Regions from separate parts of the Homo sapiens genome. Here regions 1, 2, 4, 5, 6 and 7 are each linked to region 3. The links are contacts of gene promoters, found by promoter capture Hi-C in blood cells and fetal thymus (Javierre and others, 2016). All regions are on one chromosome and are shown on one strand. Each heading gives the region's core, a stretch centred on a gene start or on the middle of the fragment in contact. The rest is flanking DNA. Distances are from core to core; before and after follow the strand shown. Region 1 overlaps DOCK4 (dedicator of cytokinesis 4). Region 2 has its middle 310 kb from the start of SMIM30. Region 3 holds the start of LSMEM1 (leucine rich single-pass membrane protein 1). Region 4 overlaps DOCK4 (dedicator of cytokinesis 4). Region 5 overlaps DOCK4 (dedicator of cytokinesis 4). Region 6 overlaps DOCK4 (dedicator of cytokinesis 4). Region 7 overlaps DOCK4 (dedicator of cytokinesis 4).

Region 1 (4,230 bases), core at 291-2,790, 710 kb after region 3:
GATGCAAGAACAAAAATATGCGTAGGGTTTCCTTAGATACTTAGCGTTTATTATAATGATACATGGGGAATTAAACATCAGGAAATCATCTCAGGGATGTCAGAGAAAACTAGATGCCTGTTAAAATAACAGCACCCTTCTGAGGATCTGGTTATTATAATTCTTGTGCAATCAGAGTAGTCTTCCATGGCTACCTATGTTATGGTGATTCAGCTCTGTGTCTGTGTCCGCCAGTTAACTGACACCCTTTAGTGGCTGCTTTCTCTGTCCATCTCACGTTCAATCCCATTAAGAAAGAGACCAGCAAGAGTGCATGCAACAGAAGGCATCACTGTCCCCGTCGGGCAGCTTTCTTGTGCCCAGCTGCCTCTGGACCACAATGCATCTTGCTCATTCCTGGAAAGTGGATAATGGGGTCCGGGGGCTCCAACTATGAGGACTGGAGCCTCAGCAGCTACTGAAGCTTCTTAAAAGAGATGGAGGTGGGCTCTTTCATACCTGTACTACATGGAGACCCAGTGAGAAAATGTGGATAGAGAGCTTGGTAAGAACCAGATCATGAGCAACCTTCTCTGTCACTGTAGGAGGCCTAAATTTATTGTTTGAGCTACTGAGAGTCATGGACTGGTTTTAACCATGATCATTTATTTGCATTGAAAGAAGTTCATATTGCTAACTGTGCAAACTGAATGGAGGGGGATAAGAGACTGCTGGTGGATTAGGAAAGCTTTCACAATAATAATTGAACCAGGAGATTGTATAAGCTCACCAAAGGTAATTGAAGAGAAAAAAGACCAGTGCCTGTGATAGGGGCCCTGGCCCTTCTTATTGCAACTATCTTTTTTACATGGAGATGGCCACATCATAGCATTATAACTCAGCATATTACTTTAGGGCTTTATGTGTAGTTACCCTAAAGGCAAATAAATGAAGAAAAGGAATTACCATTATTGATACCATCTTAAAAGCTATCATTATGTCTTTTGAGAAACCTGAGGTGGAGTTAAATGGATTAATAACATAAGTATTTGTCCATTTTATTCAATTGAGTAATTGAGTAGGCTATTATGACATTATAGGAAAAATTATTATAGTCCTTTATCAGTGACAATTCTGGTTCCTATTCTTGATCTATTGGGCTATATTTACAATTCAGGAAAAGGAGAGACCTGCAGAATGGCAAGTATCCTGTCAAATACACTATCTGCCAACCATACTTAAATCCATAGGTCACCTTTTCCACTTATGTGTATATGGAAAATCACCCCTTGTTTCTGCAGGAAATCCAACCATGCCAAGCATGTAATGATATCAGTATTCTTTACAGAAGATTTGTGGGGCCATCTGGGGCAAGGCAGTCATATCACACAGCCTGCAACGGTTCTTTCTCTCTCACACACACAAATACACCCACACACCCACACACTCCCCCCACTCCTCATGCAGCACTTCCACCCTCTCCAATCCCTACCCTGTTATTAGATTTTTTCTTTTTCTTTTTTTTTTTTTTTTTGGTCTTCACTCAGCTCCTCTCTGGCTTCTTTGCCCCTTGTAAATTCTGCCTCCACTCTGAACCCCCTCCTCACCAGTTTCGATTTTTCAGCCCTTTATTATCCCAAAGAATTTGCCATTTTTTATTTCCTAAGCCTGCCCTTTGGGGGATGCTCATAGTCCCCAAGGAACTTACTAGTGAACTCTCTCAGCAAACAAAGGCCTGTCTCCCCACATCTTTGAACCAGCAACAGCATGATATCCTTACACATTTTGATTATACTGTAGCATACAGACATTTTAGGGAAGACAAAAACAAAAGACAAAAACAGAAACGAAAATACAGGAAACAAAAGATGAAATACAGATCTGATTAGTCCAAGTCCATCATCCAGGGGAAGTCCTCGTTCATTACCCTACTGCTGCATATATTCTGGATATTTTTCTGCTATATCACGAAATTTAGAAAATAGTATTTTTTTTCCCCAGTTTGTCGGAAACTGGCCACATTTGAGGGAATGTGGCTTGGGGTCCTGTCTCAATCATTGTCTTCTCACGTGACTTGCAGAAGCTGCATATACCCTCCTCTTATATGACGAGCTACTGGAATGGTCTGATCGGCCCCTCAGGGAGTTCCTGACCTACCCCATGCAAACAGAATGGCAGCGCAAAGAGCACCTGCACCTCACCATCATCCAGAACTTTGACAGAGGCAAAGTAAGTGGCCCTGCCCCGCCCGGGGTCCCTCCTGGGGTGATGGTGTTGATGTCCCTTTCCCTTTCATTTCTAGTTTATGAATGCCCACCTCCTTAAGCAGGGATCCTCACATCTTAATGTATATTAGAAACACCCAAAAGCTTGTTAAAATGCAGATTCCTAGGTGCCACTCCTAGCCATTCTGATTCATTTTGATTCTGAATGAGCCATTCTGATTCGTGCCTTGTCTGGCATGAGGCTGGGGAATCTGTGATTTTAACAAGGACCCTAGGAGAGTCCAATGTGCATGACCTTTTCATTACACTTTGATAAACACCGATTTAGAGATTTTGATCCCCAGTAACATAGTCCATTCGTGGCGGCTTTAGCAAAATACCCTAGACTGGGTAGCTTATAAACAACAGAAATTTATTTTTCACATTTCTGAAGGCTGAGAAGTTCAAGATCAAGGCCCTGGCAGATACAGTGTCTGGTGAGGGCCATCTTGCTGTATCTTCACATGGTGAAAGGGGCTGGCTAACTCTCTGGGGCCTCTTTTATAAGGGCACTAATGCCATTCGTGAGGGCTCTACCCTCATGACCTAATCACTTCCAAAGACCCCATTTCCTAATACCATTACCCTGGGGGTTAGGATTTCAACATATGAATTTGTCAGAGACCCAAACATGCAGACCATAGCACGCAGATATTGTATTCTCTGAAAAACCATTATCATCCTTCACACTCTCCCGAAATTGGCATGCATTCTGCTCCATTATACTTTAAGGTAAAATATATGAAACTTAATTTGTTTAAAGAATTTTGTGGCATCCCATCATATACTTAAGAGATGCCTTGAGGTGTTGAAAAAACCTCACTGACTTCATAAAGCAATTCAGTACATCACCTCCCTCCACTTCCTACCCCTCTTCAAGGGCTTGTAGTACTCTTTTAAAAAATTCATGAATCTGACCGCCATTGTTTATTGGATTTGAACACTTGGATGCTTTGGTGGTACATGTCTTAGACTCAAATTTATCTTCCAGATTGCAAAGGTTAAACAGAAAATTAAAATACAACCAATGGCTGTAATTCTTTTACAAAATATAATTGGGTACACGTAAAAATTTGATGCAAGGAAGTTGCTTCTTCCACATCTTCCTTTATTATTTATCTAGGTACACTGACATATCATTACATGAATACCAAAAGAAATGTTTTTGTGCCCTCCTGCTGTAAAGTTTCCACCTGTGGGATAAAGTGGTGCAAACTCTCTGAATTCATTTATTGGTCCATCCCCGGGAGTCTGTGCTAGATCAGGGGTTGCAAACTATGGTCCACAGGTCAAATGGCTCACTGTCTGTTTCTGTACAGCCCCAAAGCTACAAATCTCTTTTACGTTTTTAAATGGTTGAAAGAAATCAAAGGAATCATAACATTTTGGGACATGTGAAAATGATATGAAATGCACATTTTAGTGTCCCTAAATTCTTATTGGAACACAGCCATGCTTAATTGTGTCTATGGCTGCTTTGGTGCTATAACAGCAGAATTGAGTACAGCAGAGTTGTGACAAAAACTAAATGGTCCTCAAAGACTAAAGTTTTGACTTTCTGGCCCTTTGCAGAAAATGTTTGCTGACACCTATACTAGATTAAAGAATTTTTACATTTCTGCTGAGAGTAACCAACTTGGTTAGACCTCTCACAATTTGCAAGCACAACTAAGCCAAGCAAGGAATCCAGGGTACCAGTCACAGATAATTGGGCCTTAGGGGTCAGTGGTAATTCTCTCCTCTGCACTGAGGGCCTGTTTATATCCATCTACTCGGCCATTGTGGAACTGTAGTCATTTCAAGATGATTCTGGAATGACACCAGAAAATATAGTTCATGTACAATATATTAATGACTGTTGTGGTAGATTATCGTTTCCAGCATTCAAAGGATTTTTAATAATTTACATTTCAATTACATGGTGTTTTCAAGCTTGAAGTCTCAAGGTGTTTTATAAAGATTAAGAAGTGGACGGGCGCGGTGGCTC
Region 2 (3,813 bases), core at 543-3,042, 940 kb before region 3:
ACACACCCAGACTATATGGAATAACCTTTTGCTCCTAGGCTACAAACCTGTATAGCAAACTACTATACTGAATACTATAGGCAATTATAACAAAATGATAAGTATTTGTATATCTAAGCATAGAAAGAACACAGTAAAAATATGGTATAAAAGATAAAAATGGTCTCCTGTATAGAGCACTTACCATGAATGGAGCTTGCAGGGCTGGAAATTGCTCTGGGTGGGTCACTGAGTGAGTGATGAGTGAATGTGAAGGCTCAGGACATTACTGTACACTGCTGAAGGCTTTATAAACACTGTATACTTAGGCTGCATTACATTTATTAAAATTTGTTCTTTCTTCAATGATAAATTAACCTTAGCTTACTACAACTTTTTACTTTATAAGCTTTTAAATCATTTTTTAAAACTGTTTGACTCTTTCATAGTAACATATAGCTTAAAACACAAACACATTGTACAACTGCACAAAAATATTTTCTGTCTTTACATTCTTATCAGATAAGCTTTTTCTAATTTTAAAACTTTTAATTTTAAAAAAACTTTTAAAACTTTTTTATTACAAACTAAGATGCACAGAGTCAGGATCATCAATATCACTGTCCTCTGTTTCTACATCTTGTTCCACTGGAAGGTCTTCAGGGGCAATAACACGAAAGGAGCTGTCATCTCCTATGACAATAATGCCTTCTGAAATACCTTCTGAAGGACTTGCCTGAGGCAGTTTTACAGTTAGCTTTAAAAAAATAAATAGAAGAGGTACATTCTAAAATAACAATAACAACTATAATATAATAAACATATAAACCAGTAACATAGTTGTTTATTATCATCATCAGTATTATATACTGTACATAATACTTTTATATGGCTGGCAGCATAGTAGGTTTGTTTAAATCAGTATCACCACAAATATATTAGTAATGCATTGCACTATGGTGTTATGACTGCTGTGACATTACTAGACAATAGGATTTTTTCAGCTTTATTATAATCTTTATTATTATTATGCAGAGACAGGGTCTCGCTATATTGTCCAGGCTGGTTTCAAACTCCTGGCCTCAAGGAATCCTCCCACCTTGGCCTTCCAAAGCACTGGGATTATAGGTATGAGCCACCGCCATCGTACGCTTATGGAACTACTGCCTTATAATGTGGTCTATTGTTGATTAAACTGTCTTTATGCGGGGCATGCTGTACCAGCCATAAACAAACATAAAACGAAATTTTAAAGCAATACTATTTATAAGAGTATGCATAAACATCAAATACCTAAAAACAAATCTAACAAAAAAGAGTTGTAAGATCTCTATAACGAAAACTGCAAAACATGATGGAGGAAATTTAAAGTCCTAAATAAATGGAGACATATACTATGTTCACGTATTTAAAGACTTCTGTAAAGATACCAATTACCATCAAGCTGATCTATAGATCAAATTCAATCAATAGATTAAATTCCAAACACTCTCAGTGGAAATTGATGAATTAATTTTTTGCACTTTATTTTAAAGAATAAGGGGCCAAAAATAACCAAGACAATGTTAAAAAACAAAGCTAGAGGTCCTTAAACTTGAAGTTTTTTAGTACGTCAGAATTATTTTACTATCATATTTATTTTATCAGTATGTTCTACTTAGCTTAGACAAATTGCTGCTTGTCCTAAATCCCTCCAGTTGTTTGAACTGAGTGGTCCTAAGCTTTGTTACAGTAGATCCCTAAAGAATTGTTTATCAGAGTTGTAGTTGGCCCCACTGTTACAAGGGACCCAACCCTTGTGGAAACTGGACATACCTTGAGCTTTGTTTTGGGCACATCCCTTATTTGCTTTTAGTGCATTTTCCTTTTGCTTTTCTTTTTTCCTCTTATAATCTCTAAGCTTCTTGCCTTTACTTATGCCTTTTATCTTAGTCTTTTAACTTTCATTTTAATATTTTAATCTCATTAATTGCTAATCTCTTTCCCTTCATTTTAAAGCCCAACTATTTTGTCTTATTATTTTTAGCCCAAAGTTTGGGAATAAAAAGTTGACTTCCCTGTGGGCTAGTCTTTCAGTTATTAGTTCTCACCAAACTCATTTGTGAACAGAACCATGAGGAGCTGAATAGTAGACAGTTTAATTGAGAAACCTTATACTCATTGAGGTCTAAAAATAGTATTTGTTTGTCTTGTATCTGCTGCCCACTGTTCTCTAACCCCCTCCCTGATAAGTAACAGAAATTCTAATTATTCTTGTATGTATCTGGTTAATAATCAATCAATCAAAAATATTAGTAATGTCATATGTACTCTTTGATGTTCTAATCCCTTTCCTTAATTTCCCTATTTTGCAGATGAGGAAGTTTGGATTAAGAAACCTGCCCAGGCTCGCCCGCTAGAAAGTCATAGAGGCAAGGTTTGAACCCTGGCAGTTTGACTTTAGAGCCCATAACCATTATAAAAAGCTCATTGAGAGAAACCATTACTTATGTAAGATAGCTCTTAATATATTTAGTATATTCATTTTTCATCAAGGGCTTTTATCTAACATACTTGAATAGGCCTCATGACTTCATAAAATCCTTGAATTTGAAGGAGACTTCTATGTGTATACAGTTCAGTTCTTGATATTTGCAGTAGTTGTGCTTTATAAAGTGACCATGAACACAGAATTAGCAAATACTGAGTCATTGCTCCTAGAGGAAATTTAGTGTTATTTTCCTTGGAAAAATACAGAGATAAGCTTTTGCGAGCATCTGGGAACAACATTTCTTATCAACTGATTAATACATAACCTTGTTTTATGTGTGTTTCTGTTTAAAGACATCATATTTAATATTTATTGTTAATTTATTACCAGTGAACTCATGGCCAACATCACTATAAATCATTCCTGAATAAAGCGTATCTAACATACATTTTCTGCATAAGGCACATCCCAGCCTTCTCGTGCTTAGGAACATTAAACAGCACTTCAGCACCATGCTTGGGAGCCATTTTAAACAGAGAAATCATTAACAAAATGCAAAAAATGTGAAAAAAAATGTGGCACTAAAGGATACTCGTTTACAGTTTGAGATCGGAAACAAAAAAGCAAAGTGTCACCCGTTTCCACATCAGCTGGGAATGTGCACATCAGGAAATTCAAAGTTTTTGATGTTTTGCACATGCATACATCTGATAATGACTTTGAAAGGACCTATGGTCTTTGAGGTTACAAGTACACTTTAGTGCGTAGGTGAATTCACAAATTCAGAATCTGTGAATAATGAGGACCAATTGTATATTATCTGCTGAGAAGAAGAAGCTTAGTGATCAGCAGATCCTTAAAAAAGTCTGTGACCTCTCACTCCTTAAGGCCAAAACCAAGACCCGGAATAAGTTAAAGTTACTAGATTATTTGACTCAGGCTAAGCGTATTGAGGATATCACGAGTGAACAGTATTATATTTGCACTTTGTATAATTCCTTCTACTGTATTTTGGTGTGAACAGCAATGTTTCACACTGAGGACTAAGGAACTACCTATGTAAATACACCCTCATTTACAAGTGAAAACTTGAAATTACCTAGTGACCAAATGACCTATTATATTAATGTCACTCATTGACATTTGTCAATTTTGTCAACTTTAATCAGTAGAATTTCTAGGATCATTGTAATGATAAAGATAAGGGAAGATTTTATTCCCAATGTTGTATAGAATCATATTTATAAGAACACAGAGAAGATTTTCCTCTAATGCCAGGACAAAGTAAGCATTTTTATCTGAAGCTACTGGCTTAGTTTTATCAAGGGCACATTATAAATCTTACAGTGATTTTCTTTCTCTGC
Region 3 (4,328 bases), core at 1,712-4,211:
GGCCATTTAATTATGTGAAAAGAAGCCTCTAGAAAGACAAATTTCAATTACTATAAAAGCTTTTCCTTTCATGGTTATCAAGTCTAATCGTGATAGAGGATGTTTGGATCTAGAAAGGGTGTTAGATGTGCTTTAGTTCCCATCCTTTCCGCAAATGAGGAAATGGAAGCTCGGCGAGGTAAATGCCCAGGATCACACATTTGCCTGGCAGCAGAGCTGGAATCGGGCCTTTTGTTCAGCATTCAATGAGTCTTGCTTTGTGCTACTTTTCTTTTCTATATCCCTTCCTAATCCTGCCTCAAGACTCAGCTCAAACATCACTTCCCCTAGGAAGAGAGAACCAACCTGTCTTTCCTTTTGCCTTTGCTGGATTCTTTACATTCTTCTATCAGAACATCTGTAGTATTTTATTGCATCTATTTGCTTACATCTTTGATTTCCCGATAGACTGAAAACTCCTTAGAGTAGGGACGAATCCTATTCTTCAAATGCCCAGTGCCAGGTTTAGAAGTTGGTGACTTATGTTAAGATGGAACACCTGAAATGTTTATTTAGGATTTAAATCTCACCATTTTCAAAAGAATTGGAGGCAGTTAATAATAAGTACATGAACAGAAATAAGATTGAGGATAAAAATCCTCATGTGATGTCTATCTGGACTCTAGTAAAGTCAATGCGATAAATATGGTGCCTGTGTGTATTTGACAACACACTGTTTACTTTCTGTTGTTGCAAAAATTTCCTTTAAAACTCATCTACAGAATGAAGAGCAATATAGAGTTGGGAGAAACCAAATTCATAAAAAAAAAAAAAAAGTATACACCTAAAGAAGATGTGGGGAAAAAAAGTATCAGACACTTACTGAGCAATTTAAACTTAGTCTAAAATATTAAAAAAACAATTTCCCAGTAATACCTAAAACTACTGGTACTTGTGAAAAATGTGCTACCAGAACCCTAGCTAAGAAAGTGAGCTCAAAAAGTCATGGACTAAAAATTTTTTTTAGGGTTAAAACTAAAAAAGTGTGTTTCACTTATCTTGAAATTTTAATTAACAAGAACAAACAATTCCCTGAGTTTTCAGATAAGATACTACCATAGCACTTTATTGACATTACTGAATTCCAAATATACTTCATAGAGCATTCCTAAGGAAATGACTTGATATGACAATTAAAAAAAATTAAAAAGCAGCAGCAAATAGAGTAAAAGGGCCTTAGAGGTCAGTCAAATCTTATCCTTTTGCAGTTAAAACCAAGGCCCCAAAATATTCACTCATGCATAGTCACAGATTTTAAAACAATTCTTTTAGATGTGTTTCATATTTTATCATCCATTTATACTAATATTTGACCAAACAGTAATATGTGACCAGGAAAAAAAGTTTTATGTGTCACATCACAGGACCACTGTTCTGCACACAGCTTCTATTTTAGGTGTGGTAACTGAAGCATGGTTCATTTTTGGATCTCTGACTTAATAGCCTTGAGCCTTAGCTTCCCCTTCAGGAATGTATCTGCTGTTGCTTCAATTTCATACTGAGGCTTAATCAATGTTTACAAAATAGAGACCTAGCTAGAAAATCATGGCCACAAAAACTGACTTTAAGAGTACAGCTAATAAAATCTCCATATTACTGGTCTTGCTATCTACTCAAAAGGTGACTCCAAAAAAAACTAAGACAACAACCTAGTGAGCCATGACGTGCTTTGAAAGAAAATGTCTTCTTTAGAGTGAAGTCACAATGTAAATATATGCTATTCCAATATTTTTTTAATGAGCTGCAACACGCAAATGGAAAAATAAAGAACTAGCAGAGAAAACTGAGTTGGGTGCTGTTCCAGGGCTCCAAGAGCCTGCAAATGACTTGCAAATGACTCATGAGGCTGCTAGTAAAGGGATACAAGATCACATGGCCTTAAAACCAGGCCCCACGGCTGTTTGACACCCAGTAGTTGCTATCTTTGGCATCTCCAAATGAGGGCATCTAGGAACAACCAGCAAGGCTGGAGAAGCCAGTGTTACTAGCAATTCTTCATCACACTAACTTGACCCTCCTTTCAACTCCAGTGTGCAAATTTGCTTATTCACCAAGATTGGCTAAAGCAGCATCCCTTTAACAGAACCCTTTCTTATACCTTGACTGGAAACATGTAAGTAATTTCATTTTCCTCTGGTTTAGATCACTGCTAACAGTTGATTTTTTGTCATTTAAGAATTCTTTGACTATTTACAAATAAATATTCCAACAAATAAAGATAATTGTCTATGAAAAATTGCCTGGTGCTTTATTTTTTAACCAGGCAGGTGCTTGGTATCAAACCACAGAAATAACTCACACCAGTATTGCTTGCCACAAAATCAGAATTGTTATAATAGGGCATAATTCAAAGCTAATAAGCAGTGTTATTGAATGAGTCATGGTAATTTGTTCTTTAATTTCATTTCCCAGTCAATGCCTCTTCACATTCAGGAAGTAATTTTTAAAATCAAGTCTAAATCATTTCTATCAAAAATGAAAAACACAGAGCACATGCAACAAAAACTTCCCAGACTCGAGAATCATAATTCAGTCTCAGTAGAGTAATAGCATGCAAATTACTTACAAAAATGTGAGCTTTGACTGCTAGGTTACCAGAAAAACAAAACAAAACAAAACAAACAAACAAAAACTAATTGTTCAGAAGCAACTACAACAAAACTTTTCTACAAATTCTGTAGTTCTCTCTTTGCCTTTCTTCAGCATACGGGTGCTCCTATGAGACCCATAAGCCCCAGGATGAAACTGTTGGTCTATATTGTGTCAATTTAGCCAAGCAGTGTAAGATTCCAAATCCTGACTTTTTTCATAATGTCTAAGGTTTTTAGTAAATATATTACTAAAACTATGCTTTAAAAAGAAAACAACAAAAAAACACCATGCCCTGATTTAGTTGGTAACTGATGAGGTTTTTATTGGACTGAAGTTACCGTCCTTATCTGGCTGAAGCAACTGTTAGCTGACACCACCTTTCCAGCACTCCTGCCATGGTATGCTTCCATATATAAATATCCTGTAGCAGGCGGAAGCTGCCACTATGATGACTGACTTGCAAACACTCCAGACAAACCAGAGAACTGCAATAAACACGGACAGAATATGATTATGACATCATAACAAGGATGATGGCAGGTCAGACGCCTAGTGCTTCCAGTAGCTACAAAAAGCGATTGTGAGTGGGCGATTTCATGGATACAGACCCACCACAGGTGAAGGAAGCACTCCATCTCATCGGCCGCCTTTCCTTTACAAAGGCTTTGTTCTGTGAGTGTCTGCACATCCTCCTTTCTCAGGAATAACAGCCTTCCATATATGTGGTTCCCTCACATACATGCCAAGGAGCTTCTGCCCTCTGCTGTACATAAAAGATGCTACAGTGATGAGGAGACCAACTATCTCAGCAGGATACTAACAGTGAGGTTGTGAACAACTGTGCAATCCTTTATCATCCTCACTTCCATTGCCATAGCTTGATGGACATTATTCATCTTTGAAACATTTTTCATGTCAGTGAGAAAATAGGTGTTCCACAAAATTTTCTTTGAGACAGAGTCTTGCTGTGTTGCCCAGGCTGGAGCGCAGTGGCATGATCCCAGCCTACTGAGACCTTCCTGCTTCCAGATTCTCCTGCCTCAGCCTCCCAAGTAGCTGGGATTACAGGTATGTGCCACCATAGCTGGCTAATTTCTTTATTTTTAGTAGAGATGGGGTTTCACCATGTTGGTCAGGCTAGTCTTGAACTCCTGACCTCAAGTGATCCACCCACCTCGGCCTCCCAAAGTGCTGGGATTACAAACTTGAGCCACCATGCCCGGCCCAAAATTTTCTTTACACCTATATCCCATACGGACCTCACTCTGCTTTGGGGGAAGAGGAATGTCATTTTTTTTTTCCCTTCACACTACCTAGTCTAAGAGGGAATGTCATTTTTTCAAGCCTCATCTGTACCCAAAGACTAATTCTTGGAGGAAGACAATATAACTAGTAACTTTTCTCAGAAACATACGTTAAAAAGCTATGTCAAATTTCTCTGAATAATGAAAATGTTCATGTTAGCTATTATGCTGTTTTTAAGAAATCTCCCAACTACCTGATCTGCCTTGAGCCATGTATCCTTTGAAGATATAATAGAAGTAACTGCCTCATTTTGGGGCGTTTACTACTTTTCCTCTCCTGTAACTTCTAACTTTGTGGAATATTAACTTCCCCTGAAGGAGGAAGGAAATGGAGACTAAGGAATTTAATTGTTGAGGGATACACTGATTATAAGTGGCAGAGATGAGATGTAA
Region 4 (4,177 bases), core at 752-3,251, 640 kb after region 3:
ATCAGCCTTTCAATTTCTAATCCCCAAAGCTATGCTAGGATAATTACTGGGATTGCATTGAATCTATATATCGATTTGGGGATAATTGACATCTTTTTTTTTTTTTTTTTTTTTTTTTTGAGGTAGGGTTTCGCTAATGTCACCCATGCTGGAATGCAGTGGTGCAATCTTGGCTCACTGCAACCTCCACCTCCTGGGTTCAAGCAATTCTCCTGCCTCAGCCTCCCAAGTAGCTGGGATTACAGGCTTGTGCCACTACACCCGGCTAATTTTGTATTTTTAGTAGAGCTCAGGTTTCACCATGTTGGCCAGGTTGGTCTCAAACTCCTGACCTCAGGTGACTCACCCGCCTCAGCCTCCCAAAGTACTGGGATTATAGGCATGAGCCACCACGCCCAGCCAAAATTGACATCTTAACAATATTGCATTTCCCAATCCATGAACATGTAATATCTTCATTTTTTTTAAGTATTTAACTCCACCCCTCAGTGTTTTGCAGCCTTCAGTGTGCAGATTTTATACATCTTTTGTCAAATAGATCAGTAATTATTTCATATTTTAATGATATTATTTTAAATTTCAATTTCTGATTGTTCATTTTTAGTGTGTAGAAGTAAAATTTATTTTTGTACATTGATCTTATATTTTGGAATGTAAATAAACTCAATTAGTTCCAGTAGCTCTTTATCAATTTCATAGCTTTTTCTATATACACAGCTACGCTTTCTGTGAAGAAAGACAGCTTTTTAAAAATTCCTTTCAAACCTGTATTCCTGATTGCCTTTTCTTGCCTTATTGCACTGACTAAAACCTTCAGTACAATGTTGAATAGAGGTGGTGAATAAGCTTTGGGAGGTTTGAAAAGTCTTTATTTTGTCTTTGCTTTTGGAAGATATTTTTATATTTTATATTTTGGAAGATATTTTTCTTGGTTAATAGTTTTTGGGGTTTTTTTTCCTTTTAGTTCTCTGAAGCTGTTGCTCCGTTGTCTTTCAGCTTGTGTTCTTTCCAAGAGAAATCTTTTCTCATCTTTGTCTTTGTTCTTCTCTATGTAATGTGCCCCTTTTTTTTCTGAATAGTGTTTTAAGATTTTCTCTACCACTGGCTATAAGCAATTTGATTATGATGTGCCTTGGTGTAATTTTCTTCTTGTTTCTTGTGCTTGGGGTTTGTGGAGATTTTTTGATATACAGGTTTATAATTTTCAAAGAGTTTGAAAAAGTTTTTTTCTCATTTCTTCAATTATTTTTTCTGTCTCTTCCTTCTCTCTGAGACTTTCAGTTACATAGATATTCTGCTACTTGAAGTTGTCCTCCAGTTCACTGATGCTTTTTTCTGTTTTTCTTTTTATTTCAGTTTTTTCTGTCTATGCTTTATTTTGGAGAATTTCTACTGCCCTACCTTTCAAGTTCAATAATCTTTTCTTCTGCAGTGTCTAATCTGCCACTCGACCCATTCAATTAATATTCATCTCACAAATTGTAGCCTTCATCTCTAGAAGTTTAATTTGGGCTCTTTTTATGTCTTCCATGTCTCTAAATTAACATATTCAGTCTTTCCTCTAGCTTCCTGAAAAATTAGAATACAGTAATATAACTATGTTAATGTTCTTGTGTGGTAATTCTATTATCTATGTCATTTCTGGATCTGTTTCTATTGATATATTACTTTTTCTCCTCATTTGCGTCATTTTTTCCTTCTTCTTGACCTGCCTGGTGATTTTTCATTGCATGCCAGTTATTGTGAATTTTACATTGTTGACAGGTGGATTTTTTTAATTTCTAAAAAATATCTGAGCTTTGCTATAGAGTGAGGTTAAATTTATTGGAAACTATTTGATCATTTTAGGTCTTGCTTTTGAAATTTGTGAGGTAGGACCAGAACAGCATTACTCTAGGAGTAGTTTTTCTCCAGTACTAAGGAAACACTGTTTTTGGTACTCTAACTAATGCCTTATTAATTGTGAGGTTTTTCCAGTCTGGCTGGTATTAAAAAAAAAAAAAGGCTCTATTATTCCCAGTCCTGTGTGAGCACAAGGCACTGTTCTCTCAATCCTTCTAGATCATTCTTTTCCTAGTGTTGGGTTGGGTTACTACCTTACACACATATACAAAAATATTAATAATATTGCCTTTAAACTTTTTATTTCTTTTGTTAAATATCAAGGATTCCCATGTTCATTAACAAAGTATATGTTGAGCTTGAAGGATGTTTCTTCTGGCCCACACTGGTTAGTTTCTTGAATATTTACCCTAAAAAATGTATATAGATAATTATTTGTCATACCTGTGTGTTGCAAATGATTATCTGCAAACAGAGATCTAGCCTGAGTACCTGGTTGCCTTGACATGGTCTTTAAGTATTATAGCATCCTTGGGTCTCCCATGGCAGTGGGCGAGGATACATTGAATTTTCCTCACCCAGCTGCTTCTGTTGAAAAATTCCCTTCTCAGGGCTTTTAGTCTCTACTTATAAAGTCTGTAGTCTCTTTCCATGTAAAATCTAAGAAACCAGTTCCCAATTAAATTGCACTTCTGTAAATATACAGTTAGTTACCAGTGATTGCCTCTCCTATTGTATTTGTTTTGTTTTAAATGTTATTACTCTGTTTAAAAGTAGATAAATTCTTTGCTGAGCACAAAAGGTTGCATTGAAAATGCAAGCATTTTAAATTAGAAGTTCATTCAAAAATGCAAGTGATAGCAATTTTATGTAGGTCTTCAAATCCATAGATGCTATGTTTACTTTTTTATTGTTAATTTTTAAGAATTAGAATTTATGGTTACAAATCACATAGAGCCCAAGCACAAAAAGAATGGCCAATTAAAAAAATTGTTTTCAATCTTCCAAGACATCTGAATAAAACTATTTTTTAAAAGGAGATTGAAATGAACATTATGCAACATATGGCATTCATTATACCCTGTGAGTCAGCAGATCAACTCTCTGATGAGTTGGAGGAGGTCATTTGAATTCAAAAATGGAGCATGAAGCTACAGGAAGGGCTTTGGAGGCAGAAAGACTGGGGATAATGCCAGCTCTGCTACTTTCTAGCTGAGTGACTTGGGGCAAGTCATTTAGCACATCAGAAACTACATTTTACCTTCTTCAAAAAGGTATTATACCCCCTACCTCATAGTGTTGATATGAAGCTTAAATGTTAGAATTATTACAGACATGTTAAATGCTCAGTAAATGATCATAAACCCTCGGTGCCTTACCTTCTTTAAATGTGTGAAGTTAGTTCCCAAGTGAAAAGCTTCCACTCAAGTTAAAAAAAAAAATCCTCCCTAAAATTATAAATTTGTGAATACCAAGTAAATAAATGGTAATCATCATAGGGAGTTTTGGCTGTGACATTTTGGATAATTTATATTAAGAAGACTTCACAGGGCAAGTTTGGATCATCGTGATTTCATTTTAACCTATTCTCTTTGAGGACAGTTCAGTGTAAGTTACTGATGTTCTTTTACGTCCTTACTAAAAATAAAATGTATGCTTTTTTTTTTTTTAACTTAGGGGGAGTTTGTTGCTTGTCTCCTGTCCCTATTACGACAAATGACAGATAGACATTATCAACAGCTTCTTGATAGTTTTAATACAAAGGAAGAACTAAGGGTAAGTGACATTTTAAAATGTTTTCTTTAACATATCTTTTGGGTTTATCTTGTTTTTATTCATCACTGTTGAGATAAATCCTAGACAATTGCTTTACCTGTTTCCATTAAGTTCTAAGCTGTTTTTCTCAGCCTCATCCACAGATCTGCTCATCTATATTGGCTTTTAAAGATTTCTATTACTCAAGCAAAGCTATTAACTCTCATTTCAGAGAAGGATATAGGATGTGAAGTACCTGTCATCAAAGTTCAATAAACTAGAAGCAGAATAACAGAACTGAAGAGATAAAAACAAATAGATTAACTACGTGAACCTAGAAACATTGCCTTAATAGAAGATAAAAGAGAATATGTAAATATGTTCACTCATTTCATCTCACTAAAACCATAATGAGAAGTTCTGGCTACAACTTTTTGACTAGGGATACAGAGTTGTATTTGATATTCTCTATCAGCTATAGTCTAATCAATATGCTGTGCTACTCTGACAAGCTGACATTAAATAGGAAATAAGGATGCCAGGTTTATAAAAATCCAGTATTTGCTGAGATTCACAGAAC
Region 5 (4,212 bases), core at 426-2,925, 630 kb after region 3:
CTACTAATGTAGCAAGATGAGCCACAGACAGAACTCCTCAGACACCGAGTTAAAGAAGGAAGGGCTTTATTCGGCTGGGAGCATCGGCAAGACCCACGTCTCAAAAACTGAGCTCCCCGAGTGAGCAATTCCTGTCCCTCTTGAGGGTTACAACTCTAAGGGGGTCCGTGTGAGAGGGTCGTGATCGATTGAGCAGGCAGGGGGCTGCATGCACTGGTAATTAGAATGGAACAGAACAGGACAGGGATTTTCACAGTGCTTTTCCATACAATGTCTGTAATCTATAGATAACATAACCGATTAGGTCAGGGGTTGATCTTTAACTACCAGGCCCAGGGTGTGGCACCAGGCTGTCTGCCTGTGAATTTCATTTCTGCCTTTTAATTTTCATTTCTTCTTTCTTTGGAGGCAGAAATTGGGCATAAGACAATATGAGGGGTGGTCTCCTCCCTTACTAAAAATATAAAAATTAGCCAGGTGCAGTGGACTGCACCTGAAGCCCCAGCTAGTCCCGAGGCTGAGGCAGGAGAATCACTTGCACCTGTGAGGAGGTTGCAGTGAGCCGAGATCATGCCACTGCACTCCAGCCTGGGCAACAGAGCAAGACTCCATCTAAAGCAAAAAAAAAACCAAACAACAACAACAACAAAAAGCTACTGAATAAATGATGTGTATTTAAAAAAATCTTATTGGAAAAGCAACTTTTTGAGCTCAGGATGAGCATGAATATGACAATAAAACAGTGTGTGGCAGGGTGGCTATGTAGGAGTCCCAGGCCAGGAGGTGGCGTAACTACCAAAAGTAAGATGTACACAGTACATGTGTCTTGCTTTAGGAAGGATGCCTGAGGTGGAGGCATTCAGGGTGGGATTAAAGCCAGTGGGTGGGATCTGGGAGCTTAATACAGGGATCATCCGTAGCCCTCCACTGTTGCTTTCCTCTGTGATCCTGACATTGTCTGCATGAGAACGTAGCCCACTGAATCTGCAGTCCTTTCCTCTCTGAGTTCTTGTTGTCTGTATTCCAGTGTCTGAAAGGCTTGTTTGCAGGTTTTGCGACTGGCTCTGACTTTGGCAGTTCAATTCCTGGTGGCTTTGATCACAGAGGCCCATCCCAGCTCTGATGTCAGGCTTTCTGTAGTCAGCAGCTCTGCTACATGCAAAGCTGTGCTGCCACATGTCCTTCTGCCTCCCTTGTTTACAATCTCCCCGTACTGAGGCCGCCCCTCAGCAGTGCCCACGTCCAGCCCATGCTAGAGCCCAGTTTGTGGAATGTAACGGCCAACCCTTGTGTGCTGCCATGGAACTCACAGACCTCGCGCTCTTGGTGACTGATGCTGACTTCAAGGATCCCTGTCTAAAGCTTGTTGATAGAGGAGGCAAAAGTATGACTCCTCAAAATTAACCTAAAGGAGGAAATCTACCCAGCTTCCCTTGTTCCTTCCTAGTCCCGTGTCCAGTGGGGATTACTGATGGGAGCTGGCTGTATATCCACTCAAGTGTAGACCAAAAAAGTAAATGAGAGTCACTCCTTATACACTCAAGGAGACATACAACACAGTGAGCTTTATCTGAGATGTGGAATATGAGTGTATCGGCCCTCTCAAGGAGAGAACCTGCACGGCAGATTCTGTTGTTAAATGCATGGAAAGTTAGTGAATGTTCAACTTGGATTGTTTTATGGGGGGTCTTATTTGATGGGCCTGGTTGTTTTCTTTTAAAGGTAAGAATTAGCATATCAACCAGTCAGCTTGTTTGGCATTTACCCACCCAGTCTATCAATTGCACTGGCTGGCATTGCCCAAGTAATGGAGAAAAAGCAAATCTGCAAGCTGGGTTGTTATGTATTTCTTTGTATACATGCCACACACAAATTATTTGTCCACCTTACTTACTTTTTTGCAGTTGATATTTTCTTAACAATTGGCTGCAAATTGAATTTTTAGAAATCAAATCCCCCTAGCTGAAGGAACATATCAGATAAGCTTTATCTTCCTTTCTAATTAAACATTACTAGGCAATGACTACTGGCACTTAAATTTTCAGGGTTTTTTTTTTTTTTTCTGGTTCTTTTTGTTAAGTAATTGATTTGTAAATAAGTATTTAAGTTCCCTGGTGAGGCTTACTGTTTAAAGAAGGCTTGCAATGAATTATTTTACAAGTTTGGATTTGAATATTCTGTATTTGTTTTCTTAATGTATAGAATGCCTGTGCCTTATGTTGTCTGTTTTGATGCTAAACCTGAGGCCAGACCTGGTTATTTTGGTAACCCAGTGGCAGGCATCAAAAGAAATAGGAGACTCCGGCTGAGTATGGTGGCTCACGCCTGTAATCCTAGCACTTTGGAAGGCCAAGAAGGATGAATTGCCTGAGCGGAGGAGTTCAAGACCAGCCTGGGGAATATGGTGAAACCCCGTCTCTACTAAAAATACAAAACATTAGCCGGGCATGGCGGCGAATGCCTGTAATCCCAGCTACTCAGGAGGCTGAGACAGGAGAATCACTGAACCCAGGAGGCGGAAGTTGCAGTGAGCCGAGATCGTGCCATTGCACTCCAGCCTGGATGACAGAGTGAGACTCTGTCTCAAGAAAAAAAAAAAAAAAAAAAAGGAAGGAGAGAGAGAGAGAGAGAGGCACTTTCACAGTTGTGGATGCTTTATTTGCACTCCTTATCACTTTTAGTAGCATACAGAATCACTTTTATCTATAGATATAGGATAAAATTGAAAGAGGAAGAAAGGAGAATAACACTTACATAGCACTCATTGCATTCCAAGCACTGCTAGCTAATATGATCCGTAAAACAATCCCAGGAGGAGTTACCATTGCTAGCCTCGTTTTACAGATGAAAAGACTGAGGCTAGTATTTCACGGAACTGGAACTCTAATCTAAGCAGTCTAATTCTTGGGTCCTCAAGTAGAAAGAAGGCAACAAATAGGGATCTTAAACAGGGTCAGTGGTGCAAGTCAAGTAGAATTTTTAATTTTGATCAAATGTAATTTATCACTTACCTTTGATAGTTTGAGGTTTTGTACCTGTTTAAGAAATCTGTATCTAACTCAGAGTCACTAGGATTTTCTTCTATGTTTTCTTTCAGAAATTTTTTTTTTTTTTTTTTTTTTGAGATGGAGTCTTGCTCTGTCTCCCAGGCTGGAGTGCAGTGGTGCAATCTTGGCTCACTGCAACCTCTGCCTCCCAGGTTCAAGCGATTCTCCTGCCTCAGCCTCCCTAGTAGCTGGGACTTACAGGCGCGTGCCGCCACGCCCAGCTAATTTTTTGTATTTTTAGTAGAGACGGGGTTTCATTGTGTTAGCCAGCATGGGCTCAATCTCCTGACCTCGTGATCCACCCGTCTCAGCCTCCCAAAGTGCTGGGATTACAGGTGTGAGCCACCGCACCCGGCTTTTTCAGAACTTTTATACCTTTAGCCTTTGCATTTTAGGTCTATGATCTATACCAAGTTAAATTTTGCATTTGGTGTAAGGTAAGGATAGAGGGTTTTTGTTTTTGTTTTTAACATATGTGTATCCAATTGTTCTAGCATCATTTGTTGAAGAAAACTATTGTTTCTCCATTGAATTACCTCGGCATCTGTTAAAGTAAAAAATAATTAATGACATTTGCTGAGGATGGTAAGTGTTACACGCGTCCGTGTGAAGAGACCACCAAACAGGCTTTGTGTGAGCAATAAAGCTTTTTAATCACTTCGGTGTAGGTGGACTGAGTCCGAAAAAGGAGTCAGCAAAGGGAGATGGGTGGGGCAGTTTTATGGGATTTGGGTAGATAATGGAAAATTACAGTTAAAGGGGGTTGTTCTCTTGAGGGCAGGGGTGGGGGTCACAAGGTGCTGGGTGGGAAGCTTCTGAGACTCATTGTCCAGGAGAAGGAATGTCACAAGGTCAATTGATCAGTTAGGGTGGGGCAGGAACAAATCACAGTGGTGGAATGTCATCAGTTAAGGCAGGAACTGACTAATTTCACTTATTTTGTGGTTCTTCAGTTGCTTCAGGCCATCTGTTTATATATGTGCAGGTCACAGGGGGTATGATGGGTTAGCTTGGGCTCTGAGGACAGTACGTCAGGCTTTTTTCAAGGTGAGGGTCATGGTGATAGGTGTGGGGGTGGCTGCAAAAGGATTTTGCAATAAGGGAGAAAGATTGGGCTGAATTTCTAATGTAGCATGGGTAAGTGGGACTTCATAGCCAAGGAACA
Region 6 (3,725 bases), core at 1,160-3,659, 690 kb after region 3:
TGACAGAGCAAGACTCCATGTCAAAAAAAAAACAAAAAAAACAGACACTCGAGAAAAATTATATCATAGAGATAAGAACCACCTAGCCACCTTTTTTCATATAAAAAAATCACCCGTAATCTCACCATCCAGAGATAACCTCTGTGGTTAACATTAGGGATATAATACTCTAGACTAAGATATATGTGTGTGTGTGTGTGTGTGTGTGTGTGTATTTTTTAAATTAAAAATATTCCTATACATACTGTATTGCACTTGCTTTTTTGCTTAATTATATTGAAAAACTTCACCTATGTTATCTTTCTTCAGCCTTATGTTAAATGATCACATAAAAATTTTAATGTGTGCATATACAATAATGTACATAACCAATTCCTGATGATTTATTTTATATATATATATATATATATATATATATAATTTTTTTTTTTTGAGACAGAGTCTTGCTCTGTCACCCAGGCTAGAGTGCAGTGGCACGATCTTGGCTCACTGCAAGCTCCGCCTCCCGGGTTCATGCCATTCTCCTGCCTCAGCCTCCCAAGTAGCTGGGACTACAGGCACCCACCACCCCGCCCGGCTAATTGTTTGTATTTTTAGTAGAGATGGGGTTTCACCGTGTTAGCCAGGATGGTCTCGATCTCCTGACCTCGTGATCTGCAGCCTCAGCCTCCCAAAGTGCTGGGATTACAGGCGTGAGCCACTGCACCCAGCCGATTTATATAATTTTTAATTGTATCTCATGGGTTATTATATTTTCTTGCTTGAGGAGACGACTATAATTGAATATATTTCTAGCAATAGTTTTAAACAAATTTTATGATATTAATTTCTGAAATCATATTAAGATTGAATATATTGAAACTCAAATATTTTTCTCACTTTAGGAGAGCACAAGCTTCATTTTATCCCTGCCCTGATTGGCCCCTTCCTAGAAGTGACCTTGATACCCCAGCCAGATCTTCGGAATGTCATGATTCCAATTTTTCATGATATGATGGACTGGGAGCAGAGGCGGAGTGGCAACTTTAAACAGGTAGGCAGAAGTGCTCCTCAGAAGAGTTGGAAGAGTTTCAGCTCTCCTGAAGCATCTGTGAACTTCTGGATTCAACTCCAACTTGGGAAATGAACACTGGGTCAGCAGACCTAGATTCCAGCCTGGCCTATCCACTCCCAAGCCACACAGCCGTGGATACTTCTCAGATCCTGTGTTGTCCTGAGCCTTCAGTGAAGCCCTGAAAACCATTTGATTCCTTTTCAGCTGAAAAATTTTGTGATTTCCCAGATCTGTATTTAAGAACTTGCAGAGACTTTATTTGCACCCAGTTGGACACAGAGCAGAAGAATCAGAGAGTTAATGATTAAACTCATTGAGCTCTCAGTGGTCTGCACATTGTATTTGGCAAATGGCTTAGCTTTGAGCATTTGATTTACAGTATGTTTTATTGCTCTTTGCTTGAAGCATTGAGAATTAATTTAAAGGAGAAAGCTGTGGAAATTCTTACAGAGGAAATTCCAAGGGAATGAGCTTACCATTTCTCATTGACATAGGTTCTAATAGTTATACTCCAGTTTTGGGAAAACAGGCTTATTACAAAACCAGATCTCTGAAGGAATTCACTGCTTTTGCTCTGCCAGGTCCTTCAATTTGGAGATAGTAGGCCTACTGTCTGTTCACACAGTCATGGCACAAACCTGTGTGCCCACAGGGTTTGACCCTTCCTCATGTTTCTCCAGAAGAAGCCTCCCTCAAATCTCAGGAATGGTTGTCAACCAGTCAAGCAATCTGACTGCAGACATGGAACCCTCCTATTGCCAAAAGCATGGGTGTTTCACCTGTATCGGTATACACATTTATTTTCAAGAAAGCTAATAGATGAATGAAAGACTATTTAAAAATTGTACTTAGGAAAGAAAAACCCACTTTCCTTCCCCCTTGTCTTTATCTCTTGATTGAAATTTGGTTTAAAGGAATAATAATTGGGCTTAGTCTTTTGACAAAGTCAAATATTCCTCCCAGTCCCTAATCGTTTTAACTCTCTCTGGCCATAGAGAAGTTTTTCATTTTCTGTCTCTTCTGCCTCAGATAGACATAGATAAAGGGATATTTTTCCATTCCTGATATTCAAGTTCCAAAGGATTTACATCCTGGAAAATATAAATGTTTTGACTACAGTTTTCAGGAAATATGTCCTTTCTCTCTCTTGCTGCTTATTGCTGACTTAGACTATTGCTATGGATCTACCATCTGTACGTGGGTAAGGCAAGTTCTCAACTTCAGCAAAGATTTAGTGCAACCTCAAACTGTTTTGAGAAAGAAAATAGATATAAAACACATCAAAGATTTAAATTAATGTATGTGGATATGTTAGTTTCCTGATGTCCTTATATATAGTGATGTTTAAAAAAAAGAAAAAAGAAACAGGACTTGCCAGTTTTTTAGCTCCTAAAAAAGAATTCAAACGTTTAAACTGGGCTGCAAGCATTTGTGTTTGAATCAACAAATAGATAGATGTCTTTGGCAGCAGTAAACGCTACCCAGCCAGGAGTGTGAAGTCATGTAACTCTATCTAGATTAGTCCCTTAGAATTCCAAAGGGTTGCCTGCTATTAACCGTAGCTGATAATGTCACTTTCACAAAATTTACCATGGCTTTTTCCTTGGCACAAAGAAATACGTTTTAACTTGCCTAGAAATCCTACTTGTGAAGGGGAGGAAAGAGAATAATAGTTGGGTATGTTTCAGGTGGAAGCCAAGCTAATTGACAAACTGGATAGCCTGATGTCAGAAGGCAAAGGTGACGAAACATACCGCGAGCTCTTCAACAGTATGTGAGTAATATGTTTATCTCAAGTTGATTCCATTCTGGGGGATTTGGTGTCAGTACTGAGCCTCTCTGCACCACGGTAGCTGAGAGCTGCAAAGACAGCTTAGGTCTCACAGGAGGGCTTTGTCTTTGTGGAGTGTGAAATAAAGGATAATTGCCTAACTCTGGCGAATGGATCTTATAATGTTGATGATTAGGCATGTCTTCCTGTTTTAATCTCTGATTAGGACAGGTTGCATATGTTACATAACAAATCTCCCTCTTTTCATGCCTGATAATTTTAAAACCATTCCTGCAAGATAATGATTTTAAGTGGGGTTATAAGTGGGAGAGGAGAAAAGGGGTGTGATTGTAATGTTTGTGTGCACTGCTTTCCAAAGCAAGATACTGATGCTGATTTGCTGTTGGAAAATTAACCTAGTTTGCATCTGTTCTTCAACACCTGATTTAATTAATTAATACTGATTGTTCGCTCAGCATTAATTGCTTCCTAAATGCTTTTTATTAGAATATCTCAGAAGCAAATCACTTTTAGTAAATTCTGTGTTTTGGATTTGTATGGAAGATAGAGAAATAATGGAATGCTGTAAAGAGACTTTAAGGTTGCCCTACCCATAGAATCTGATCATAGCCACAGGATGAATTGCTTGTACCAAGTATTCATGCGTTGTGTTTAAATGGCCAGAAGATACAGTGAGAATGTTTTAGTGCTTTGGGATTTCACTTCTGGCACTTGTTTTCTCTACAGCTTCCTATGGATCTTAGTCATTTTCAAATCTAACATATGTGCAAAGTATTTCTTTTTGAAAGAAGAATTTGCTTATTGTGCTTGAAAAATGTTTGCAGTTCTTTCAGAAGTGCAAAATAATGCAGTAACACATTTTTTTCTATGACAAAATAT
Region 7 (3,936 bases), core at 698-3,197, 660 kb after region 3:
ATAATATTGCATTGAATGACCATACCATAGTTTATTTAACCAATTCTCTGTTACTAGAAATTTGAATCATTTCTGATCTTTCTTAATTCTTCTCAACAAAATACATACATGAAGCATCTGCTCAACACTGGGAATAAGACATGACCTTTGAGTTGGACACATGGAGATTGACGTTCTTTTTATTCATCCAAGTGGTATGGCCAATAGAGAGCTGAAAATACTGCCCCGAGGAAACTTCAGAACAAAATACAGGCATTTGGGAGGTTATTGACATAAAGTCGATATTGGAATCTCTAGAAGATGATAAATTCAGTTTATATTAAGCATATCCAGCATGATCTGAGAGCAATACTAGAAGAGAGAGGAGGCAGGAAAGGATATTAGGGCAGTCGGAATGGCAGGAGCTGATCCCGGAGAGTACAGTGTCATGGATTTATCTGCTCTCTCCACTTCCTGTCTCCATAGTCTCAAGATACAGAATGGAAAAGTGTTCTAGGAAACTGGCCTGGTCTTCACTTCCAAGCTTGTTATTTACCCTATTTCATTAGCATTGTCACTCTCCAAGCCCACATTTGCCTGCTTCCCCTTCTTCCTCTTTTCCAAACGCCAACACCCTCATGCTCAGGATGAAGGTTGGATTCTCTAAGCATCTATCTGTAGGCCACGGTCGCCCTGTGTTTTCTCCAGATGGCAAGCTTTGATGGTGGTGAGAGCTGCAGGAATATAGGATTCGATTTTGATTATATATGCTCAATATGGCTTCTGCTGCAGTATACATTTATAGACTTGGAGGTGTTAAAATGATGTGTTAAAAACTTTGTGAAGTAACAAATAGTATAACATAGCATATTATATTTTACATAAGTACAGAAGCAGCTTTTCCATTTTGAAGATTGAGAGTGTTGAAATAGCTCTCTTTAGAATTTAACATATTTAGTTTGATATCTGTGAGTAGAATCAAATATCTATTCATTTGGTTGTCCGCATGCTACAGATTTAGGTGGGAGTTTTTGCTCATTCATCTGGCCTTATAACCAAAGAGCAAACATTCTGGGTACCTAGGAAGGGCTGTGAGGTAATCCAAGGAGCCAGATGGGAAGAGGTCCAGGCTATGGACATCATCATCACGCAGCATCAACATTTGGTCATTCTGCCTGACTCATGTGCAGAGGAATATTTTGGATTGAATTAAAATTTCAGTGGTAGAAATTCAAACTGAAAGTAACATTGACATTTTATTCCTTACATATACAATTTCTGCTTAAGCTTGCCTAAAATTGTAACAACCATGTGGCTTTTTGATATTAAATACTGCCTCTCTCTGCCCCATCGTTACTTCAGTTTTAAAGACTTTATGGTCACACAAATGGATAGCAGTCTGAGAGTATAGATTCTACCTTTGCGTAAACACACACTGTTCAGAATTTTCATTTACAGTGTTAACCAAATAGGAAGATGATTTTGTTAGAGATGAGCTCTGTGTAATACATTTAAACAGAAGGTTACTCCCATAGCAAACCCAAGAAATGTGCCATCACCCTTTGCTAAATGTGGTGACTTCATTCCATTGCCACCCATGTGAGTGCTGGTAGGAGTCTGGCGCTGCCTCTCCACTGGCAATGGCTGGTGGCTGCAAGTCCAACCTCATTCATGGACAGGACTCCAGGAACTAGAGAGACCACTGCCAAGTTGGAGCAGCCAGTCTGCTGTATGTTCTTGCTCTTGCCTCTTCTTTCCTCTCCTCTCCTCTTTTAATAGTCTCTAACCATTCTCCTCCATTCAAGTCATGAAAGCAGATGAGGTTTGCTTTGCTTCATAAATGCAGCATAGTCTGAAAATTAGCCCTCTACTATTTGTGCTTTATCTATGAAAAATATTAACCCATATAATATTGGTAGAAAAGTAGATTTCTGAAAGATGTTAAGGACATCTTAAATACGTTAAAGAGCATACACTAGGAAGAAAAAGTTTCCGCTTGGCTAAACCATGTTGAAGCACGTTGCAGGAGTTACATCTATGTCTCTGAAGTTGACCACCTTTTCTTCCATAGTTTCAACTTTCTTAGACAAACATTTTTTCAGGGCCTCTCAAAGGGCATTTTAACCCAAACTCCCACTTTTATTAACCCAGTCGTGTGCTTAATACATGTCAAATTGATAGCAGGTGGCTGAGAAGTCACCATTGCTCTACCCTTGAACTCAATTGAATTGCTCATCCCTCAAAATGAATGTTCTTTTATGTGTTGGTCCTTTCTTCCTCTGTTTTCAAGTAAATTAAATGCCTTTAACTTTCATCTATAAGCTGTGTTGTTCCAAATCTTGTAGCTTGCCTGCTTGGTGTGAAGCTCTGCCAGAGTTTGTGACCAGACACCTGGTGATTTGTATGGTTCCTTGTTTTTTTCTACTGCATGCCTAATATTGTATAACATAGCAAGTGTGCCCACTTATAATTCTGCCAGGGCAAGAAGCATTTCTTCTCTTTCTTGTTTGCTGTAGAGCTATCTCATGACCCCCTGTAAGTTCCTGGTAGATGTTTCTGATGACAACAACTGCTCAATCTAAGAAAGAAGGAACATAAGGAAGATGAAAATTAAGTACCAAAAATACAGGACACTTTGAGACAAGCTTCTCTCCACCCCCTTCCCATACACATTGTGAAATAAAGTACAAAAATAAAGTCACAGCTTTATACATATTTTCAAGAAGAAAAACCTTATAACACACTTGCTTACTGAGGAAGGTAAAAACTCCTTCTCTCTTCAGTTGAAATTTCAGGTCTTTATTTTGGTTATCTTGTGTGCATGTTGGCCTCAAACATATCATGCACTAACCAACTTGGGTTTCAAATGAGATCTATGTAGCCAAAAAGCGATTTGTTAAATCAAAGTTTCTTAGAGAGGTTGTCCATTCATTTACTGACCCACTTATTCAGCCAGTATTTTCCAGTGCCTGATGTGTAAAATAAGTACTATAAAGACAAAGAGCACCGTGATATGAGGGTGTTATGAAGTGAACATTGTTCTGGACTAGAATAGGAGGGGTCTTTCATGAAGGAGTGAAGCTTGAACTGAAAGCTTAGCAGGGGGTAACAAACAGCAAAGGAATAATGATTCTATCAGTAGGTAGCATCTACAAAGGCCCTGTGGCCAGAGTAAATGTGGCACACTCAAGGAACTGAAAGACTGTTAGTGTGGCTGAAATGTGGGGAGGGAAGGAACCAGTAAAGATGAGGTTGGTGGAGGAAGACAGAACCCAGATATTGATATGTGGAGAGACCAAAGAGAAACCAGGGAGAACCAGTTAGGAGCTTACTGCAGCCATCCAGGTAAGAGATGTTGATGATGACTTGGACGGGCGGATAGCAATGAAGGTAGTGAGAAGATTGGTTTTGGAAATAAGGATGATAAGACTTGCAAGTGACTGGGTGTGGGTGGGAGAGAAGAAAAGTAACGGAAGGTGTTCCTTAGATGCTTGGCCTAAGTAAAAGGATGAATTGTGCCATTCACCTAGTTGGAAAAAATGGAAAGAGGAGTAGCATTGGGGATGAGAGAAGTGAAGAATTCCATGTTGAACATAAGTTTGAGGTGTACTAGATATTCAAGTGGAGATGTAGAAGGGAAAGCTAGACATGCTTGCATGGAGCTCAGGGATGATGTTGGGGCTGGACATGTGCGTTTGGGCTCCTCAGCATATGGTTAGGATTTGAAACCTTGGAACTGAACAAGAGCACTGAGGAAGAAAGTGCAGACTGAAAAGAGAAAAAGACAGGACTGAGCCCTAGGGCATGCCACATTTTAAAGGTCAGGAAGTGGAGAGGTATCCAGTGAAGAAGACTGAAAAAGAGCAGCCTATGATGTAAGATGAGAACCAGCAGAGTACAGTATCCTGTGAAGAAAGCATTTCAAGAAGGAAGCAGTATCTAGAGCTGCTGGGAGGT

The links. The method cuts DNA at HindIII sites, captures the fragments that hold promoters and counts their contacts. A CHiCAGO score of 5 or more calls a contact.
Region 1: a fragment that was not itself captured here is called in contact with the fragment with the promoter of LSMEM1 in region 3 in 6 of 17 cell types (fetal thymus, naive CD4 T cells, activated CD4 T cells and 3 more); the score reaches 11.5 in fetal thymus.
Region 2: a fragment that was not itself captured here is called in contact with the fragment with the promoter of LSMEM1 in region 3 in 3 of 17 cell types (total CD8 T cells, non-activated CD4 T cells and total B cells); the score reaches 5.7 in total CD8 T cells.
Region 4: a contact is called between a fragment that was not itself captured here and the fragment with the promoter of LSMEM1 in region 3, in 1 of 17 cell types (neutrophils). The highest score is 5.3, in neutrophils.
Region 5: a fragment that was not itself captured here is called in contact with the fragment with the promoter of LSMEM1 in region 3 in 1 of 17 cell types (fetal thymus); the score reaches 7.0 in fetal thymus.
Region 6: a fragment that was not itself captured here is called in contact with the fragment with the promoter of LSMEM1 in region 3 in 2 of 17 cell types (fetal thymus and naive CD8 T cells); the score reaches 6.8 in fetal thymus.
Region 7: a contact is called between a fragment that was not itself captured here and the fragment with the promoter of LSMEM1 in region 3, in 1 of 17 cell types (M1 macrophages). The highest score is 5.3, in M1 macrophages.

Annotation. Positions count from the first base shown.
Region 1 is chr7:111,767,507-111,771,736 of GRCh38, reverse strand. DOCK4 (dedicator of cytokinesis 4) reads left to right here. Exons shown (of 53, transcript NM_001363540.2): 37 at 2,060-2,208. Among named protein-coding and RNA genes, the nearest start is that of DOCK4-AS1, 39 kb to the left of the region's middle. The HindIII fragment of the contact is 1,621 bases long and covers 730-2,350 here.
Region 2 is chr7:113,423,486-113,427,298 of GRCh38, reverse strand. No RefSeq gene overlaps it. Among named protein-coding and RNA genes, the nearest start is that of SMIM30, 310 kb to the right of the region's middle. The HindIII fragment of the contact is 179 bases long and covers 1,703-1,881 here.
Region 3 is chr7:112,479,624-112,483,951 of GRCh38, reverse strand. LSMEM1 (leucine rich single-pass membrane protein 1) reads right to left here and starts at 2,961. Exons shown (of 4, transcript NM_182597.3): 1 at 2,606-2,961. The HindIII fragment of the contact is 7,612 bases long and covers 62-4,328 here.
Region 4 is chr7:111,834,029-111,838,205 of GRCh38, reverse strand. DOCK4 (dedicator of cytokinesis 4) reads left to right here. Exons shown (of 53, transcript NM_001363540.2): 26 at 3,520-3,618. Among named protein-coding and RNA genes, the nearest start is that of DOCK4-AS1, 28 kb to the right of the region's middle. The HindIII fragment of the contact is 2,306 bases long and covers 849-3,154 here.
Region 5 is chr7:111,850,355-111,854,566 of GRCh38, reverse strand. All of the region lies in intron 23 of DOCK4 (dedicator of cytokinesis 4), which reads left to right. Among named protein-coding and RNA genes, the nearest start is that of DOCK4-AS1, 44 kb to the right of the region's middle. The HindIII fragment of the contact is 622 bases long and covers 1,365-1,986 here.
Region 6 is chr7:111,787,765-111,791,489 of GRCh38, reverse strand. It overlaps DOCK4 (dedicator of cytokinesis 4), which reads left to right. Exons shown (of 53, transcript NM_001363540.2): 31 at 885-1,033; 32 at 2,743-2,828. Among named protein-coding and RNA genes, the nearest start is that of DOCK4-AS1, 19 kb to the left of the region's middle. The HindIII fragment of the contact is 3,023 bases long and covers 898-3,725 here.
Region 7 is chr7:111,817,999-111,821,934 of GRCh38, reverse strand. The region is part of intron 27 of DOCK4 (dedicator of cytokinesis 4); the gene reads left to right. DOCK4-AS1 (DOCK4 antisense RNA 1) reads right to left here. Exons shown (of 2, transcript NR_103806.1): 2 at 156-2,557. Among named protein-coding and RNA genes, the nearest start is that of DOCK4-AS1, 11 kb to the right of the region's middle. The HindIII fragment of the contact is 1,358 bases long and covers 1,269-2,626 here.